Linked DNA regions of Homo sapiens: region 2 is linked to region 1. Evidence: promoter capture Hi-C in human tissues and cell types (Jung and others, 2019). All regions are on one chromosome and are shown on one strand. Each heading gives the region's core, a stretch centred on a gene start or on the middle of the fragment in contact. The rest is flanking DNA. Distances are from core to core; before and after follow the strand shown.

Region 1 (4,296 bases), core at 646-3,145:
GGTTTCACCATATTGGCCAGGCTGGTCTCGAACTCCTGACCTTGTCATCTGCCCGCCTCAGCCTCCCAAAGTGCTGGGATGACAGGCGTGAGCCACCATTTATAAAGGCTCTAACCCCGTTCGTGAGGGGTCTACCCTGGTGACATAATCACCTCCCAAAGGCCCGACCTCCTAATGCTATCACAAGCGGGGAGGGGTAGGATTTCAACATACGAATTTTGGAGAGACAGAAACATTCTGTCCACAACAGACACTCTTTCTCTTCCCTGCTAAAAATAGACAAAACTGATTATTTCTTTTGCTTAGTCTTTTGATTTGACTAATAAGAGATCACATTTTGGCCGGGCGCGGTGGCTCACACCTGTAATCCCAGCACTTTGTGAGGCCGAGGCAGGCGGATCACGAGGTCAGGAGATTGAGACCATCTTGGCTAACACAGTGAAACCCCGTCTCTACTAAAATTACAAAAAATTGGGCGTGCTGGCGGGTGCCTGTAGTCCCAGCTACTAGGGAGGCTGAGGCAGGAGAATGGCATGAACCTGTGAGGCGGAGCTTGCAGTGATCTGAGATTGCGCCACTGCACTCCAGCCTGCGGGACAGAGCGAGACTCCATCTCAAACAAAAAAAGAGAGAGATTACATTTTGTGACCTTGTTATCTCATGTCAATACTGACTGTAGTTTTCATTTCATTAGAATAAGTTGTATTAGGGGAATCGTTGGTTTTGGCTCTGGTCATGTAATGTACAGAGTAGCTGTACCTTACAACTTGATCATAAAGTTGTTCTCTGCAAAACGAAACTAGTTGGGAAAGACAGAATCAATATGATGAAAGAAGTGGTCATACCAGGAGACACAAGTTCTAACTCCAAGGTGTGGCCTTAGAAGATTACGAAGATACAACATAAGGATAGAACTATTTATAAAGATTATAAAGGCTTTACATGAGTAATACAAGATGCAAGGATTTAGTGAATAGACATTAATACTGTACCCCGAGTGTTGCATTTTCATGACCTTTTTTTTTTTTTTTTTTTTTGAGAGGTAGTCTCGCTGTTGTTGGCCTGGGCTGGAGGGCAATGGCACGATCTCAGCTCACTGCAACCTCTGCCTCCTAGGTTCCAGCAATTCTCTTGACTCAGCCTCCCGAGTAGCTGAGATTAAAGGCGCCCACCACCACGCCTGGCTAATTTTTGTATTTTTAGTAGAGATGAGGTTTCACCATGTTGGCCAGGCTGGTCTTGAACTCCTGACCTCAGGTGATCCACCCACCTCGCCCTCCCAAAGTGCTGGGATTACAGGCATGAGCCACCGTGCCCAGCCCTTTTTTTAAAAAGAAAAAAAAAAAAAAAGCCCAGCTATAGGACCTAAGGACTCAGCAATGGGGTTTTCAAGCCCCCTTCTTTTTAATATGGAATTTTAAAATACTTCTTATCTTGGAAGAGTTTATGACTCACAAGAAGTTGCAAAAATGGTACAGAGAATTTGCAAATACCCTTTACCCAGCTTCCTCCAATGACATCTTATGTAATGATAGTGCATTATTAAAACCAGGAAATTGGCATGGGTACACTATCATTAACTCAACTACAGACTTTATATATTTATTATTTTTGAGACAGAGTCTCATTCTGTCACCCAGGCTGGAGTGCAGTGGTGCACTCATGGCTTACTGCAGCCTCAAACTCTTGGGTTCAAGTGATCCTCCCAACTCAACCTCTTGAGTAGCTGGGACTACAGGTGCATGCCACCATGCCCAGCTAATTAGAAAAAATTTTTTGTAGAGATGGGGTCTCACTGTGTTGCCCAGGCTGGCCTCCCCTCCCCTTCCCTCCCTTCCCCTCCCCTCTCAACAGGGTCTTGCTCTGGAGTGCAGTGGCATGCTCATGACTCACTGCAGCCTCCACCTCACCAGCTCAAGTGATCTTCCTACCTCAGCTTCCCGAGTAGCTGGGACTACAGAAGCATGCCACCACGCCCAGCTAATTTTTAAAATTTTTTGCAGAGGTGGGGTCTCACTATGTTGCCCATGTTGGTCTCGAACACCCAGGCTCAAGTGATCTACGTGGCTCAGCCTCCCAGAGTGTTGGGATTACAAGTGTGAGCCACCGTGCCCAGCCCGGAAATAAAAGCTTAATACATGCTACAATGGGGATGAAGCTTGAGGACATTATGCTCAATAAGCCACACAAAACAACAAAGTTTGTATGGTTTCGCTTACATGAGATTCCTAAAGTCATCAATTTCATAGAGACAGAAAGTAGAATGGTGCCAGGGGCTAGGCGATGGGGGATGAGGAGTGAGTGTTTAATAGGTTTCAGTTTGGGAAGATGAAAGAGTTTTGGAGATGGTTGGTGGTGATTATGGCAAAACAATGTGAATATAATGCCATAGAACCACACACTTGGCCAGCCACTTGGCAGTGGCTCATGCCTGTAATCCCAGCACTTTGGGAGGCCAAGGTGGGCAGATCACAAGGTCAAGAGATTGAGACTATCCTGGCCAACATGGTGAACCCCCATCTCCACTAAAAATACAAAAATTAGTTGGGCGTGGTGGCGCATGCCTGTAATCCCAGCTACTCGGGTGGCTGAGGCAGGAGAATCACTTGAACCCGGGAGGAGGAGGTTGCAGTGAGCCGAGATCGCGCCACCGCGCTCCAGCCTGGTGACAGAGTGAGACTCTGTCTCAAAAAAAAAAAAAAAAAAAAAGAGCTATACACTTAAAAATGTTTAAAATGGGCTGGGCATGGTGTCTCACGTCTATAATCCCAACTCTTTGGGAAGCTGAGCCAGGTGGATGGCTTGAGCCCAGGAGTTTGAGACCAGCCTGGGCAACATGGCGAAACCCCGTGCCTACTTTAAATATACAAAAAATTAGCCTGGCATGGTGGCGCGCGTGCCTGTAGTCCCAAATACTTTCGAGGCTGAGGTGGGAGGAGTGTTTGAGCCCAGGAAGTCAAGGCTGCAGTGAGTCGTGATTGCACCACTGCGCTCCAGGCTGGGTGATGGGAGTGAAACCCTGTGTCCAAAAAAAAAAAAAAAAAAAAAAAGTAAAGTGATAAATTTAATGTATATTTTACAAAAAAAAATTCTTTTTAAGACAGCAGGTGTAAGAATACCAGCATAAGGCTGGGCACGGTGACTCATGCCTGTAATCCCAGCACTTTGGGAGGCTGAGGTGGGAGGTTCACTTGAGTCCAAGAGTTGGAGACCAGCTTGGCCAACATGGTGAAACCCCTTCTCTACTGAAAATACAAAAATTAGCCAGGCATGGTGGTGGCTGCCTGTGATCCCAGCTACTCGGGAGTCTGAGGCAGGAGGATCGCTTGAACCTGGGAGGCAGAATTTGCAATGAGCTGAGATTGCACCATTGCACTCCAGCCTGGGTGACAGAGTGACACTCTGTTTGAAACAAACAAAAAAAGTTAAAAAAAAAAAAAAAAAAGAATACCAGCATAAGCTCATAGGGATCTTGGGATCAGCTGAGGTCAGAATAGCAATTTCTTTTGTTTCGTGTGTGTGTGTGTGTGTGTGTGTGTGTGTGTGTGTGTGTGTGTGTATGTGTGTGTTTTAGATGGAGTCTTGCTCTGTTGCCCAGGCTGGAGTGCAGTGCAGTGGTGCAATCTCAGCTCACTGCAGCCTCCACCTCCTGAGTTCAAGTGATTCTCCTGTCAGCCTCCTGAGTAGCTGGGATTACAGGCATGCACTACCGTTCCCGGCTAATTTTTGTATTTTTAGGGACGGGGTTTCACCATGTTAGCCAGGCTGGTCTTGAACTCCTGACCTCAAGTGATTTGTCCACCTTGGACTCCCAAAGTGCTGGGATTACAGGTGTGAGCCACCATGCCCGGCCCAGAGTAGCAATTTCAAAGTACTCCCAGGTACAAGCTGGCCCGTCTCACCAAGCCTCAGTCTCCTCTTGACAATGAGACTCCTGATAATAAAAGCCATCACTTGGCTGGGACACTGATGAGGATTTATTAAGTCCTAAATGTGAACTAGTGTCATCATCATTGCCACCTCTCTGGGCATGAAGGAAAGGACTCCCACTCGGCTCTCTATTTTCTCTGTGCAACCTCAGGCATGCGTACAGCCTCTCTGAACCTTGGTTCCTCCTCTGAAACTTACAAACTGCACAGTGTTGGGTGGGCGCTCTGGATTAGGATAGGCTGACCAGAGCATATGGGAGTGAAGCCTGCCCTTGGCATGCTGGTGATGATGGGGGACACTCCTGTGCCTCCCAGGAGCAGTCGAACTGTCCCGGCGCCACCCCATCGCGTCCTGGCTGTGCGCCAT
Region 2 (4,292 bases), core at 349-2,848, 140 kb before region 1:
AGGCGCGGGCCACCACACCCGGCTAATTTTTGTATTTTTCGTAGAAACAGGGTTTCACTATGTTGGCCAGGCTGGTCTCAGACTCCTAACCTCAAGTGATCTGCCCGCCTTGGACTCCCAAAGTGCTGTGATTACAGTATGAGCCACTGCAACAGGCCTCCTTTCAAGCTGTTTAATCGAACACCAACTGTGTGTTATGTATTAAGGGACAATGACCTTGTACCTTAATACAAGACGAGCGTGTAGTCCCCTGAACTACACGCTCGCCGAAGCCAAACAGACCTTGTTTGGGTCATTGTACCTTAATACATAACACACAATTGGCGTTCGATCAAACAGCGGACAACCACCTCTCAATGTCCATCTACCTGGCAAACTCCTAGTTATTCATTTAAACAATCTAGAGACGGGGTTGGGTACTGAACGTGACAGATGTGATACCTGCCCTGAGCAGCCGCACCACCTGGTGACTATCCATTATTCAAAGGCCAGCTCTGCTTCCTAACTTTAAACTTCTTTAGAGCAGGACTGGAATCCTGTTGCCTAAATGAACGAACATTGATAAACACTTGCCAATAACTAAAACTCAGAGGGATAATTCTTTTTGATTTCTGCTGCAGGCATCTGAAATGCACAAAACCTTGCTGGACCCACAGGGAGACGGCAAAGGGGGCTGGACAGTGCCTGTCCCATGGACTCCCATCCGGCCTCTATCACTTCCTCCCTAGAAAACACTAAAACAATCACGCTACTCCTGCTAATCTCCGTCATCAGTCTGCAAAACAACAGCAAAATCCCTGATCCAGAGCCCAGGGGGGAGGATCGAAAACCTCGTTGTTCTCCATTACAGTGGCACCCAGCAGCCGCTCTGTGCAGGGCCGTGGGAACAGCGGAACAGGGATCGTGTGGACCGAGCTGCTCCACTTCAAAGAATAAACGACCCGAAAGAAAGAGGTTTGTGGCAGAGCCCGGACTGGAATCCGAGAAAGGAAGCGCTCGATGGGACGGCCTGAGTGCCGGAGGGGACTCACGCTGCTGCTGCTCCAGCGCCAGCTTGCACTTGTAGTAACTGTAGAATTCGCCTCCGAAAAGAAACGAGAATTTGGGGTTGTCCTTCTGCTTCTCCATAGTCATCTTCTCAAACTCGGGCCCATTGCGAGCCACGAACTGGGCGAGCTTGTCGATGACATTTCGAAGCTCCTGGTCTGGAGGACGGAGAAAAGGCCACGCGGGGCGTCAGCGAGGACCGCCCAAAGCCGGGGGACTCGGCGCCCCAGCCCCCGTCCGCCTTGCCGGGGACCCCAAGGGGGTGGGCCCCGAAGAGGCCGCCCTTGTACGGGTCCCGATAGGGGCCACACGCTCGCCGGGAATGCGGGGACCCACGGGAGAGGCCGCAGGCGAAGCCGCGAGGCCGAGCCCCGCCCCCTCCCAGACCCGGGGACTCCGGGAGGCGGGGCCGGCCAATAGGAGGTTCCGGGGAGAGAGAAACGGTCTCTCGGCCGGTTTGGGTCTCACCATCGGGGGGCAGCGGCATCTCCATGGCTCCGGCCGCGGGGAACGTCCTCCGGCGCCACACGATCGACCACCAGCGCCGTCTGCGGAAGCCGGCCGGAAGTGGCGCGAGGGAGCCGTTTACGGCGGGCTTCTAGGGCCGCTTCCGCCCGCCACTTACGGCCGTCGCTGGGAAACTCCGGAAGTGAGAGCGGGAGGCAGGCGGGAAGAAGCCGCGCGATGCCTGGCGCGCGGGAGGGGCTAGCGACGCGCACGCGCAGAAGTTTCCTGACACTTTCGCAGAGTGGGTCCCCGTCGCGCGGCGCCGCGGAAAGGCTGGAACGGCGCGGGTGGGTGTTAGTCGAGACCGGGGGGCGCGGGGCGTGCCCCTTGGTCGGCGTCGCAGCCCGATGGGCTGGCTGGTTGCTACCTCCGGGCGACCAGGGGCCTGGGGACTTCGTGCCTGGGCCAGGGTCTCTTTCCTTTCGCGGGCACAGTGAGGAGACTGCGAGGTGAGGTGCGTCCGGGTGGATCCCGGGCTGCGGCGACTGTCACATTCTCCCCGGCCAGACCGGAGGTGGAGCAGAACTGGGGGCGACGAGCTTGACTGGGATTGCAGCTGGACGTATTTAGGTTCAAAACATCCTCCTCCTGGCTTTCTTCCGCTCCACTCTTTGGTCAGGAAGACTGGGGCGGGGTACCCCCCAACCCATGCCCTCAAATTGCTGGCCTAGAGGGCACAGCGCCTTTCTAAAAGCTGCAGTTGGGTTGCCTCTAAAATAATGAAGCTAACCCTTGCTAATTGTGGGGAAAAGATAGCCAGAAGCAGCAAATTTCTGCTGTGGACGTCCGATATAAACTGATCCTCTTGAGATGGTTAATGCTTAGTTGGCTATACCTGCCCCCCGCCCCCGCCGCTTTTTTTTCCTTTATCCGTTTTTTTTTTTCTTTTTTCTTGAGACAAGGTCTTGCTCTGTGGCCCACGCTGGAGTGCAGTGTCATGATCATAGCTCACTAGCCCTGAACTCCTGTGCTCAAGTAATCCTCCCGCCTCGGCCTCCCAAAGTGCTAGGATTATAGGCATGAGCTACTTTACCCAGCCTGTTTTTTTCTGTGCAAATAAATGCACATGTATTTTAGATTAGTTTCATTTTTATTGTTAACAGCATTTTTCCACCAGATGCTTATGGATTGACAACTCTACATCAAGTGTTGCTGTAGGCTAGGAATCAACAAAACTTTTTGTATAAAAGGGACAGAAAGCAAATATTTTAGACTCTGCAGGTCAGGAGGCAAGATCAAGGATTTTTTTTTTTCTAAATGTCCTCTAGTTCATATTTTCTCATGAAGATCGAGGATCTTAATTGTTTGGTTTTTTTTTTTTTTTGAGACACAGTCTTGCTCTCTCTCGCCCAAGCTGGAGTGCAGTGGTGTGATCTCGGTTCACTGCAACCTCTGCCTCCCGTGCTCAAGCAATTCTCCTGCCTCAGCCTCCAGGGGAGCTGGGACTACAGGTGCGCACCACCACGCCCGGCTAATTTTTGCATTTTTAGTAGAGATGGGGTTTCACCAGGTTGGCCATGCTGGTCTTGAACTCCTGACCTCACATGATCTGCCTGCCTTGGCCTCCCAGACTGCTGGGATTACAGGTGTGAGCCACCCTACCCAGCCTTATTTAGGTATTTCTATAACCAGAAAGAAAAGTTCATAAAATTTTTGTTGGTGAAAATCAAAATATGATAACTGAGTAGTTTCTTAAATACAAGTTGCTACAGTTTGAATGTTTGTTCCTAATCCCCAGTGAAACAGTATTAAGAGGTGGAGCCTTTAAGAGGTGATTGGGTTATGAGGTCGTGCCATTCATGTGTTAATGGATAAATAGGTTATCATGGGAGTGGGACTGGTTTGGAGCTTGCAGTGAGCTGAGATTGCACCACTGCACTCCAGCCTGGGCGACAGAGTGAGACTCCATCTCAAAAAAAAAAAATAAATAAAATAAATAAAATAAAATAAAAAGAGGAAGAAAGGCCAGGCTCAGTGGCTCATGCCTGTAATTCCAGCACCTTGGGAGGCCAAGGCACGCAGATCACCTGAGGTCAGGAGTTCGAGACCAGCCTGGCCAACATGGAGAAATCCCATCTCTACTAAAAATACAAAAATTAGCCGGGCATGGTGGCGGATGCCTGTAATCCCATCTACTTGGGAGGCTGAGGCACGAGAATCACTTGGACCCAGAAGGCAAAGGTTGAGGTGGAGGTTACAGTGAGCCAAAGTCGTGCCACTGCACTCCAGCCTGGGCAACAGAGCAGGACTCCGTTTCAAAAAAAAAAGGAAGAGAGACCTGAGCTTGCACACAGCCTGCTAGCCATGTGATGCCCTGTGCTACCTCAAGACTCTGCAGAGTCCCCACCAGCAAGAAGGCCCTTGATTTTGGATATCTCAGCCTCCAGAACTGTAAGAAATAAATTTCTCTTCTTTAAAAATTGCCCAGTCTCAGGTGTTCTTTTATAGCGATGCAAAATGGACTAAGACCCAAGTCTATTCATAAGAGTGGAATTCTTTTGGGGGATAACATTTCACTTAATTGGGGCTCCCAGTTGTATTTCCTGTCGTCAATTGATGGTACATGTTCACCTTTGAAAAACCTTCCTGGCTCACAAAAACAGGCGGCCAGTTGGATGTGGTTTATAGATACGGTCATGCACAACTCAGATCTCAGCTCTGCTCTCAGGGGACTCAGTCTATGGCGGGGAAGAGTCCCAAAATCAGTAAACAAATATATCATCTCAAAGGTGTTATTA

What was found. Contacts are between HindIII fragments. The study calls those that stand out against the background at their distance.
Region 2: the fragment with the promoter of CHERP here is called in contact with a fragment that was not itself captured in region 1 in 1 of the 25 tissues and cell types used here (spleen).

The regions. Positions count from the first base shown.
Region 1 is chr19:16,675,740-16,680,035 of GRCh38, forward strand. It overlaps TMEM38A (transmembrane protein 38A), which reads left to right. Exons shown (of 6, transcript NM_024074.4): 2 at 4,245-4,296. Among named protein-coding and RNA genes, the nearest start is that of TMEM38A, 17 kb to the left of the region's middle. RefSeq lists an enhancer at 3,818-4,296. The HindIII fragment of the contact is 4,607 bases long and covers 1-4,199 here.
Region 2 is chr19:16,540,839-16,545,130 of GRCh38, forward strand. CHERP (calcium homeostasis endoplasmic reticulum protein) reads right to left here and starts at 1,599. Exons shown (of 17, transcript NM_006387.6): 1 at 1,516-1,599; 2 at 1,032-1,205. The coding sequence starts at 1,540. RefSeq lists silencers at 1,231-1,300, 1,311-1,500. The HindIII fragment of the contact is 9,580 bases long and covers 1-3,263 here.